Regions from separate parts of the Homo sapiens genome. Here regions 2 and 3 are each linked to region 1. Evidence: promoter capture Hi-C in human tissues and cell types (Jung and others, 2019). All regions are on one chromosome and are shown on one strand. Each heading gives the region's core, a stretch centred on a gene start or on the middle of the fragment in contact. The rest is flanking DNA. Distances are from core to core; before and after follow the strand shown.

Region 1 (3,065 bases), core at 183-2,682:
GAATTCTGGCCTTCCCACAGCTGGGCTAGGACTCTTGAAACCATGCCCCAGCTCTCCCAGCCCCTCCCATGCTCTTATTTTTTCCTGTTGCTGGCCCCATGCGCCCTTCTCCTTGAATCGGTGTCTTTTCCTATAAGGGGGTTTTCTACTCCATGTTTTTCCCTAAGTTTACCACCCCCTTCCTGCAGCTGCTCCCCCGCCTGGACCTGGTTTGCCTTTTCAACAGGTGCTTTTAAGTCATGAGATGCTGTAGTCTCAAAATCAAGCCTGCATCAGAATCATTCTAGTTGCTTATCAGTGTGTTGAATCCCAAGCCACACCCCCACCCCCAAGAGGTCTGAGGAGACGAAGGTGAGCCTGGGAATTGGCATGTTTAATAAATACACTCCAGCACCCACCCACCTGCTGGCAGTCACAGGCAGGTGGTCCAAGGGTCCTCTTGGAGAATACCATGCAGCAGCCACTCCAGTGGGAAGCCCGAAGCCTCCTTTCTGCCATGGTCTGGCACATGGAGGTTTACTGAATACTTGATGAGTGAACGGATGACAGATAGGAGAAGATGAGGATGACATGTGGAAGTGTTCTGGCCACTCAGGAGATAAAGGAACAAGATTCAAGTCGTTAGAAGCCCCTCACTGAAAACCCTAATAAGGAGAGGCACAAGCTTTCAGATTAAGTAATAATCATTTATAGTCATTTAATCTAGTAATAATTAGAATAATCTACTATGTGTTAGATTTTAAAAGTTTTCAGTGGCAGCCCAGTGACCAATCCAGCCTGGCAGACGTTTTGTTTAGCCAACAGTGCTTTGACAAGGTCTGATCCGACATTTTAAACTTGGGAGATTTCACAGAAATCCAGACTTTTTGCCTGTCTTGGGAAAGTTAGGAGTCCTGCAATAATGGACCTGCATTTCACTTGTAGCAGTTATTGGTTGGAGCTGCCATCACTGCATGCTTAGGATGCAGTAAGCTGCATCCAGTTTGCCGCAGTCCCCAGCACCCCCACCAAGTGTGGACGTGGGCACCCACAGCTGGTATTACAGGACCTGGGGACCCAGCTGGCTCCTGGAGGGGGTCTGTGACTTCAGATATATGAACACCGATCCTGGGGGTAATTTTTGTCCCATCTATTTTTCTAACTTAACAGAATTATCTCCATCTTACAAGAAAAAGGGTCAGAGGGGTGTCATGAACCCAATAGCTACTGGACTGAGATTCAAGCCCAGGCCTGCCTGGAAACCTGGGCTTTTTAATTCTCAGCCAGACTGTCTGTCTCACTGCCTCACTTCCCACCCTTTCATCCAGAACAGCTCTCCCTCAAAGTGTCCCCTGCATGCTTTGCCTGAAGTACACTGTGACTTCTTTGTTATGTCACAGCTTAGTCACAGTTGGGCTGAGAGCAGAGCATGGCCCAGCCTGCCAGGTCCCATGGGGCAGCCCTGCCAGCCCAGCCCAGGCTGGCCCAGCTTAGCCACACATGCGCCATGAAGTACCCTTTGATGCCGCTGGTGAACGACCTCACATTTTCTTTCCTGGTTTTCTGGTTCTGCCTCCCTGTGGGTTTGCTGTTGTTATTGATCATCTGGCTACGCTTCTTACTTAGCCAAGGTGAGCTTCTTACCCCGTCCAGGCAGGACCCTAATCCTGGAGCTAGGCAGGGGGCCAAATAGGCCAGTGTGTCCTGAAACAACTGCAGAAGGGGCTTCCTTCAGTCATTTTAAGTGCTCGCTTAGATACAAGCAGTCAACTCTTAAGTGGAAAGGATTGGTTTGGTTGTTTAGGGTTTCTTAACCTAGAGTTCGAGAGTGAGTCCTAGAGTTTGAACCTAGAGTTCGAGAGTGAGTCCTAGAGTTTGAACCTAGAGTTTGAGAGTGAGTCCTAGAGTTTGAACCTAGAGTTCGAGAGTGATCTTTTGAACAAATCAGAGGTTATCGCTCCAGGCAGATGAACTTCCAGGTGCCCCTTTCAGCTGGGGTGCAAGGCTCTGTGAGCAGAGCGTGGGCTGGATTTCAGCCCCGCTCACCCTCTCAATTGGCTGCTTTTGTGCAGTAAACAGCTTGCACGATGGGATACAGCAGCCTTAGGCATTTTTCAGATACCTGCAGACCACTCACTGTTTCTGCCTAAGCCATGTATCAGAAAGGATCTGGCTGCTTTGGGAGACAGGCTCATGGAAGCCAGCTGACATTCACCCTGACCTCAGCATGCCACCAAGAGGAGCAAGAGGTGGGACGAAGCTGGCTGTGGAGGAAGCTGGGGGTGGCTGGATCAGGATATGGCCTGGCTGTGTGGCAGGAGTGGGACTTCTGCTCCTCTGGCATGTGTCTCCCTGAGCATCCCCTTCAGCAAGAGGTCTCTTCCTGCTGGACACAGTGGCTCACACCTGTAATCCCAGCACTTTGGGAAGCCAAGGTGGCCAGGTTGCTTGAGCCCAGGAGTTTGAGACCAGGCTGGGCAACGTCCCTACAAGGAATACAAAAATTAGCCAGGTGTGGTGGCATGCATCTGTGGTCCCAGCTACTGAGGAGGCTGAGGTGGGAGAATTGCTTGAGCCTGGGAGGTCGAGGCTGCAGTGAGCCGAGATCACACCACTGTATTCCAGCAGACAGAGTGAGACCCTGTGTCAAAAAAAGGCCTCTTCGTGGGGACCACTTGACCTCCTACCTCCTGCTGCTGAGTGCCATGACCTTTGGCAAGCTAGGCAGGGAGGGCGCAGCACATGCCGCCAGCAATGGTCAGATGTTGTTGAGGCAGGGTGAGAAGTCCCTCCCCACACCCCTGCTAGCCCCATGATCTCAAATGTAGGGGCTTATAATTATGTAATTATTGGGAGTTCCTGGCAAGAACTTGGGATGTCCTTTTGTTTCTAGAAAGTGTTTATTTAAAGTATATTCTCCTCATAGTCCTAGGGTAGACCACAGCCCTCCCTGAGGGGCACGGTTTAGGCATTGGGCCCCACAGCTGGTAGGGAGTCAGCCTTGTTTGCATACTGGCGATAAAAGTTGTCTCTCTGGAGTCTGGAAGATATGAGTTCAGATATCATCCTTTTTTTTTTATTTTTAT
Region 2 (3,114 bases), core at 64-2,563, 82 kb before region 1:
AAGAAACAATTAACCAATTAAATTAGAGCCTATAGATAATATATTACAAAGTAGTTATCAAAGTAGAGTCTGAAAACTTGGTAGTGACAAGATATTTTACTCAGCAAATGAAACCTCCAAAGTCTTTTAACTGTTCTATTTGGAAGTGTGCCAGTTTGCTATTCATTAGCTAGCCATTAAATGCCTCCAGTTTTATAAGACTTTACAGTGTATTTCAGAATCCCTGCTTTGTATATAGCACAGTGTATATAAACTATAAGTTGATCATCTAGTTCCAAGTTCTCTTGTTGCTTATTCATTGGTGTACTCTGTTGACTAACACATGTGAGTGTGCTTGTGTTCTCACACAGATGCAGTATTCAGGGAAATATCTAAAAGGAAGCATGGAATTTCAGTGTGGGAAGGGATGCAATGATAGTAATACTCTGTCTGGTATTGACAATAGCTGGACAGTCATTGATTCATCACCTCTCTGCTACTTACTCCCCATGCCAGGGGTCTCAACAGCATGAGGCAGACAATTCATCCCCCTCCTGGGCTCTTTGTTGTTGAAACTTTGGTTTTGCTCATTTGAAACACACATTCTTACAACTTTTCCTGTGAGTCCCAACTTTGCCTTCTGGAGCTATGCGGTGTAAAGACCACTGCTGTTTTTCCACCTGGTTCCAGGGCTTAGAACAGGGGAACAGCCCCATTTTCATGGTTAAGGCTCTGTCCTTCCCAACACCAGTCCTTTTGCTCCATTATTTGTCTCTCTGTCTCTCTCCCTTGAAGGGTGGCTTTCAAATACTTGGAGCATTGTATGGCAAAGTTTGGAGGTAAAAAGACATGGGTGTTTGTTGTGATTCCTTCACTTACTGGCTGCATGAAGTCGGAGAAGTTACTTAAACTTTCTGAATCTAAGTTTTCTCATCTTCAAAATGGGTATAATTAGCAGTTGGTATTAGGTATTACAGATACCTACCCTGCAGAATTAATGTGAGGATTATATGAGGTCATTTGTATGAACTATTTGGCATAGAAACTGACTCATAGTAGTCAGTCATCATAGGCAGTCATCCTTTTCCTTCTCCCCTGTGTCCCTCTGTCCCCCTTGCTGGAGGATTAAGGCCTTCAATAAGAACTGAACAGGGCAACTTGAAATCTTTCAAAGTAAAAATTTTTTGATGTGTCTGTGATTTTGGGTACAGGAACTCCTAAGAATTGCTTCTCATTTTTACTATTAAATGATTATTTGAAAGTCAAAACTTAATATTGCACTTATTTTAATTTTTTGACCAGTTCTCCCAAATCAGTGTCTTAAAGATTCTGCTTTAAAAATAAGTTTGCCAAAGATGTGTTTTCTTTTTGTTGGTAAGGTGGCATTGCTGAGAATCTAGCAGAGAAGTTGATTGGTGTTCTCTTTGAGGTGTGGTTACTAGCTTGTACTCGGTGCTTCCCAACACCTCCTTATTGGAAAACAGCCAAGGAGATGGTGGCTAACTGGAGGCATCACCCAGCAGTGGTGGAGCAGTGGAGCAAGGTCATTTGTGCACTCACTTCCAGGTAGGTTATTGTCATTGCCCTGCCTTCCTTCACCTGTCTGACCTTAGGCAGCTTTCTGGCATTCATGGAATACATTATAACAAAGGCTGGGTCTGTTATTACTGTACTTTAGATACAGAATTGAGCCACTTTTTAAATATAGATATAACAGTTTGGCTAGTGCCTGTTTAAAACATTTCAGAATAATCAAGTATTCTTGAGAAACAGATAAATTTTATACCCTACTTCCCCCACAAAAAAATTCCACTCTTATTTTGATCATTAAAATATGCATGATCATTAAAATATGCCTAATCATTATTTTAAAGAAACAAACCATAGAAAGATATAATAGAAAAGTTCTCCTGAAATCCTACCATGTATATTTATATATAATTTTACAGGAATGGGACCATATTATACATGCTACTTTATAACCAAAGTAGGCAGTTTTTTTATAATAATAATTTTACCTTTTTGCCATTTATATTTAATACCATCGCTGTTTTATAAGTACACTCTTAGGTTCATTTTTTTCAGACTTATTTTTTCATTTCAATCGTGATTTTAATATGCAAGCATACCTTGTTTTATTGCACTTGACTGTATTGAGCTTCACGGATACCATGTTTTTTTTTTTTTCCAAATTGAAGGGTTGTGGCAACCCTGCATCAAGCGAGTCTGTCGGGTGCCATTTTTCCAACAGCATATGCTCACTTTGTGCCTCTGTCATATGTTGGTAATTCTTGCGTATTTCAAACTTTTACTGTTATGGTGACCTGTGATCAGTGATCTTTAATATTACCATTGTAATTGTTTTAGAGTGCCACGTACTACACCTATATAAAATGGTGAACTTAACTGATCAATGTTGTTTGTGTTCTGACAGCTCCACTGACCAGCTGTTTTCCGTCTCTTTCCCACTCTTGAGACACAATGATACTGAAATTAGGCCAATTAGTAACTCTATAATGGCCTCAAAGTGGTCGAGTGAAAGGAATAGTTGGATGTCTCTCACTTTAAATCAAAAGCTAGAAATGATTAAGTTTAATTAGGAAGGTGTGTTGAAAGCCAAAACAGGCTGAAAGCTAGGCCTCTTGCACCAAATGGTTAGCCAAGGTGTGAATGCAAAGGTAAAGTTCTTGAAGGAAATTAAACATGCTACACCACTGAACACAGGAATGATAAGAAAGCAAAACAGGCTTATTTATGATATGGAGAAAGTTTGAGTGGGCTAGATAGGAGATCAAACCAGTCACAACATTTTCTTAAGCCAAAGCGTGATCCAGAGCAAGGCCTAACTGTCTTCAGTTCTATGAAGGCTGCGAGAGGTGAGGAAGCTGTAGAAGAAAGCTTAGGAAGAGGCCGAGGTTGGTTCATGAGGTTTAAGGAAAGAAGCCATGTCTATAACGTGAAAGTGCAAGCTGAAGCAGCAAGTGTGATGGAGAAGCTGCAGCAAGTGATCCAGATGATCTAGCTAAGATCATTGACGAAGGTGGCCTCACTAAACAACAGATTTTCAGTGTGCATTAAACAGTCTTGTATTGGAAGAAGACACCATCTAGGACTTCTATAGCTAGAGAGGAGAAG
Region 3 (2,979 bases), core at 88-2,587, 100 kb before region 1:
GATGCAGTCTCGCTCTGTCCCCCAGGCTGGAGTGTAGTGGCGCAATCTCAGCTCACTACAACCTCCGCCTCCTGGGTTCAAACGATTCTCCTGCCTCAGCCTCCTGAGTAGCTGGGACTACAGGCACCCACCACCACACCTGGCTAATTTTTTTGTATTTTTAGTTGAGAGGGGGTTTCGCCATGTTGGCCAGGTTCATGTCGAACTGCTGACCTTAAGTGATCTGCCTGCCTAGTCCTCCCAAAGTGCTGGGATTACAGGCATTAGCCACCGTCCCCAGCCCATAAAATATTCTTTATAAGGATTGTTATAGAAAAATTTTCTTGGTTCCGTTTTGTATTATTTGGTCAGTTTTTAGGCTTAGCACTAATAGAAACTGATGGGACAACTTATGTTAAATTCAGATACTCAAGAAACTTGTCCTTGTGTGTCTGATCAGATAGGGACACAGTATCCAGTTCTTGCTTTAGCACATGGAAGAAACTCAATCTTTAAGGCTGAAGGTTTAAGTCTGTAGTTGTGCCCCAAAGTAAAGGTGAAAAATTCCACATGCTCAGAGAACAAAAGTGACTCTAATCATGATAGCTTGGGACCTAGAAATGGATTCTGTTTAATACGAGGTACTCATCAGTGTTAGCAGGTGTGTTTCCTGACATGTGCAAAGACTTTTTGGGCAGAATAGTTGATTTTCTTTGGTGCGAGATGATTTAAGTTTTAAAATTAAGGTGCATGGAGTTTCATTCTAACTTTTTATAGATGCGGAAAGTAACTTGGTCAAGGCTACATGGTTAGCTTCTAGCACCTCCAGGACTAGAAAGCAGGCCTCCTTCCTCTGGACGGTGTCCCCTTTCGCCCCCGACCCCTTCCCCATGAGAAAGGTTGTCTTGTGTATTGTTGTGTTGTGTTTGCCTGTCTGTGTGTGCATGGGATAGGGAAGGGGAGAGAGTGATCTGCTATGTTTGAGAAACTCAATTAGATATCTAGAGGCCCCTCGACTTATGATGGGATTACTTCCCAATAAACCTATCAAAGTTGAGAAGATCGTAAGCCAAAAATGCATTTAATATACCTACTGAACAGAATAGCTTAGCCTCATCTACCTTAAACATGCTCAGAACATTTACATTAGCGTACAGTTGAGCAAAATTGTCTAGCACAAAGCCTATTTTATAATAAAGTGTTGAATATTTCATGTAATTGATTGAATATTGTACTGAAAGTGAAAAACAATGGTTATGTGGATAATCAGAGTACGGTTTTTACTGAACGCATATCACTTTCACACCCTGGTACAGTTGAAAATAATAAGTTGAGGATAGTGAGTACTTGGTGTGTGAAATGCACTTAGCTATATAAACTGGGAATACAAAGATAAATAAGACACGGCCCCTGTCCTCAAGGAGTCTAATCAAAGTTATAATAAAATAATAGTGTAGTATCTGAAGCAGCTCTGTCAAATAGAATTTTCTGCAATCATGGAACTAAATCTTACTTGCTCTAATATGGTAGCCACTGGCCACATGTGACTTGTAAGCATTTAAAATGACTAGTGTAACCAAGGAAGTGATGTTTGACTCAAATAGTTTAAACTTAAAACTATTAAAATTAAAAGTTTTTAAAATTTAAATAGTTACATGAAATAGCTGCTGTATTGGACAGAGGTCTGTTTTATGCCTCAGAGAAGGTCTCAGGCATAAAAGATGAGAACTGTGGTGGTGCTGGTAGGGGGCAGACAGGGTATTCAAACGTTCTTTGGGTAGCTTACCAAAAACTACCATTTTCCATGTTTTGGGAGAGATGCAGGCAGAACCTGTCTTTGTTTCCTGTAATTCAGGTGTTTGATAGGATCTCTAATAGCATCTGGTACATAGGTGAATACCTTCCTTTTTTGCCAGCTTTATTGATGTTTGCCTTATGGGGTCAATGGGACTGCAACAGCAATATGAATCATGAGGTTATATGGATGAATTTGGTGCACCTTAAAAAAAGCACAGTTTATTTATTTGCTCAGTGTTTTAGCACCCTGTATCCTATTTTTCCCAAGAGAAATAGGCATGTCTTATAATGTGTACCTTCCATTGGTACATTTCAAAGTATGTCAACTTAGGTTGCTTTATTTGATCCTTCTCCCAGGTCACTCTAGATAGGCACTGCAGGTATTCTCCCTGTTTTACAGATGAGGAAACTATGACAAAGAAATGCCAGGTCACCGAGTGCGGTGGCTGACTTGTAAACCTAACACTTTGGGAGGCCGAGGTGGGAGGATTGCTTGAGCCCAGGAGTTTGAGGCCAGCCTGGGCAGCATAATGAGACTTTGTCTCTATAAAAATTTTTCTAAAAATTAGCGGCGCATGGTGACACACACCTGTGGTCTGTTACTTGGGAGGCTGAGTGGGAGGATTACTTAAGCCTGGGAGGCAGAGGCTGCTGTGAGCCGAGATCGTGCCACTGCACTGTAGCCTGGGCGACAGAGTGAGACCTTGTCTCAAAAAGAGAAATGCCAGTTGACTTATCCAAAGTCATATGGTGAGGTATGGAGTCAGGACAAAGGGAAGTAGCATTGCACTTTGAGGCAAGAGGTGGAGTTTCTTGTCCCAGATCCGCTGTTACTTGATGTGATCCTGAGCAAGTCATAGCTTTACTTTGTTTCCTTACCTAGTGGTTAGTGACGTCTGTCTTACCTAACCTTCTAGGGTTGTTATTGGAATAAAATGAAGTAACATGTAAAAGCTCTTTGAAAATGATAAATTATGCAAAGGTACAATGTGCTCAAGCAAGACCTCAAGTAGTTTTTCTTTTTTTTTGAGACGGAGTCTCGCTCTGTCACCCAGGCTAGAGTGCAGTGGCGTGATCTCAGCTCACTGCAACCTTCGCCTCCCAGGTTCAAGCTATTCTCCTGCCTCTGCCTCCTGAGTAGCTGGGATTACAGGCAGCCGCCACCACACCCGGCTAATTTTTTTATTTTTATTATTATTTATT

What was found. The method cuts DNA at HindIII sites, captures the fragments that hold promoters and counts their contacts. A contact is called where the count stands out against the background at its distance.
Region 2: a fragment that was not itself captured here is called in contact with the fragment with the promoter of ADIG in region 1 in 5 of the 25 tissues and cell types used here (H1 embryonic stem cells, bladder, heart right ventricle and 2 more).
Region 3: a fragment that was not itself captured here is called in contact with the fragment with the promoter of ADIG in region 1 in 2 of the 25 tissues and cell types used here (mesendoderm cells and thymus).

What each region holds. Positions count from the first base shown.
Region 1 is chr20:38,579,765-38,582,829 of GRCh38, forward strand. It overlaps ADIG (adipogenin), which reads left to right and starts at 1,433. Exons shown (of 3, transcript NM_001393816.1): 1 at 1,433-1,610. The coding sequence starts at 1,487. The HindIII fragment of the contact is 13,860 bases long and covers 1-3,065 here.
Region 2 is chr20:38,498,089-38,501,202 of GRCh38, forward strand. It overlaps RALGAPB (Ral GTPase activating protein non-catalytic subunit beta), which reads left to right. Exons shown (of 30, transcript NM_020336.4): 5 at 1,359-1,545. Among named protein-coding and RNA genes, the nearest start is that of MIR548O2, 17 kb to the right of the region's middle. The HindIII fragment of the contact is 5,600 bases long and covers 1-3,114 here.
Region 3 is chr20:38,475,635-38,478,613 of GRCh38, forward strand. All of the region lies in intron 1 of RALGAPB (Ral GTPase activating protein non-catalytic subunit beta), which reads left to right. Among named protein-coding and RNA genes, the nearest start is that of RALGAPB, 4.3 kb to the left of the region's middle. The HindIII fragment of the contact is 5,940 bases long and covers 1-2,979 here.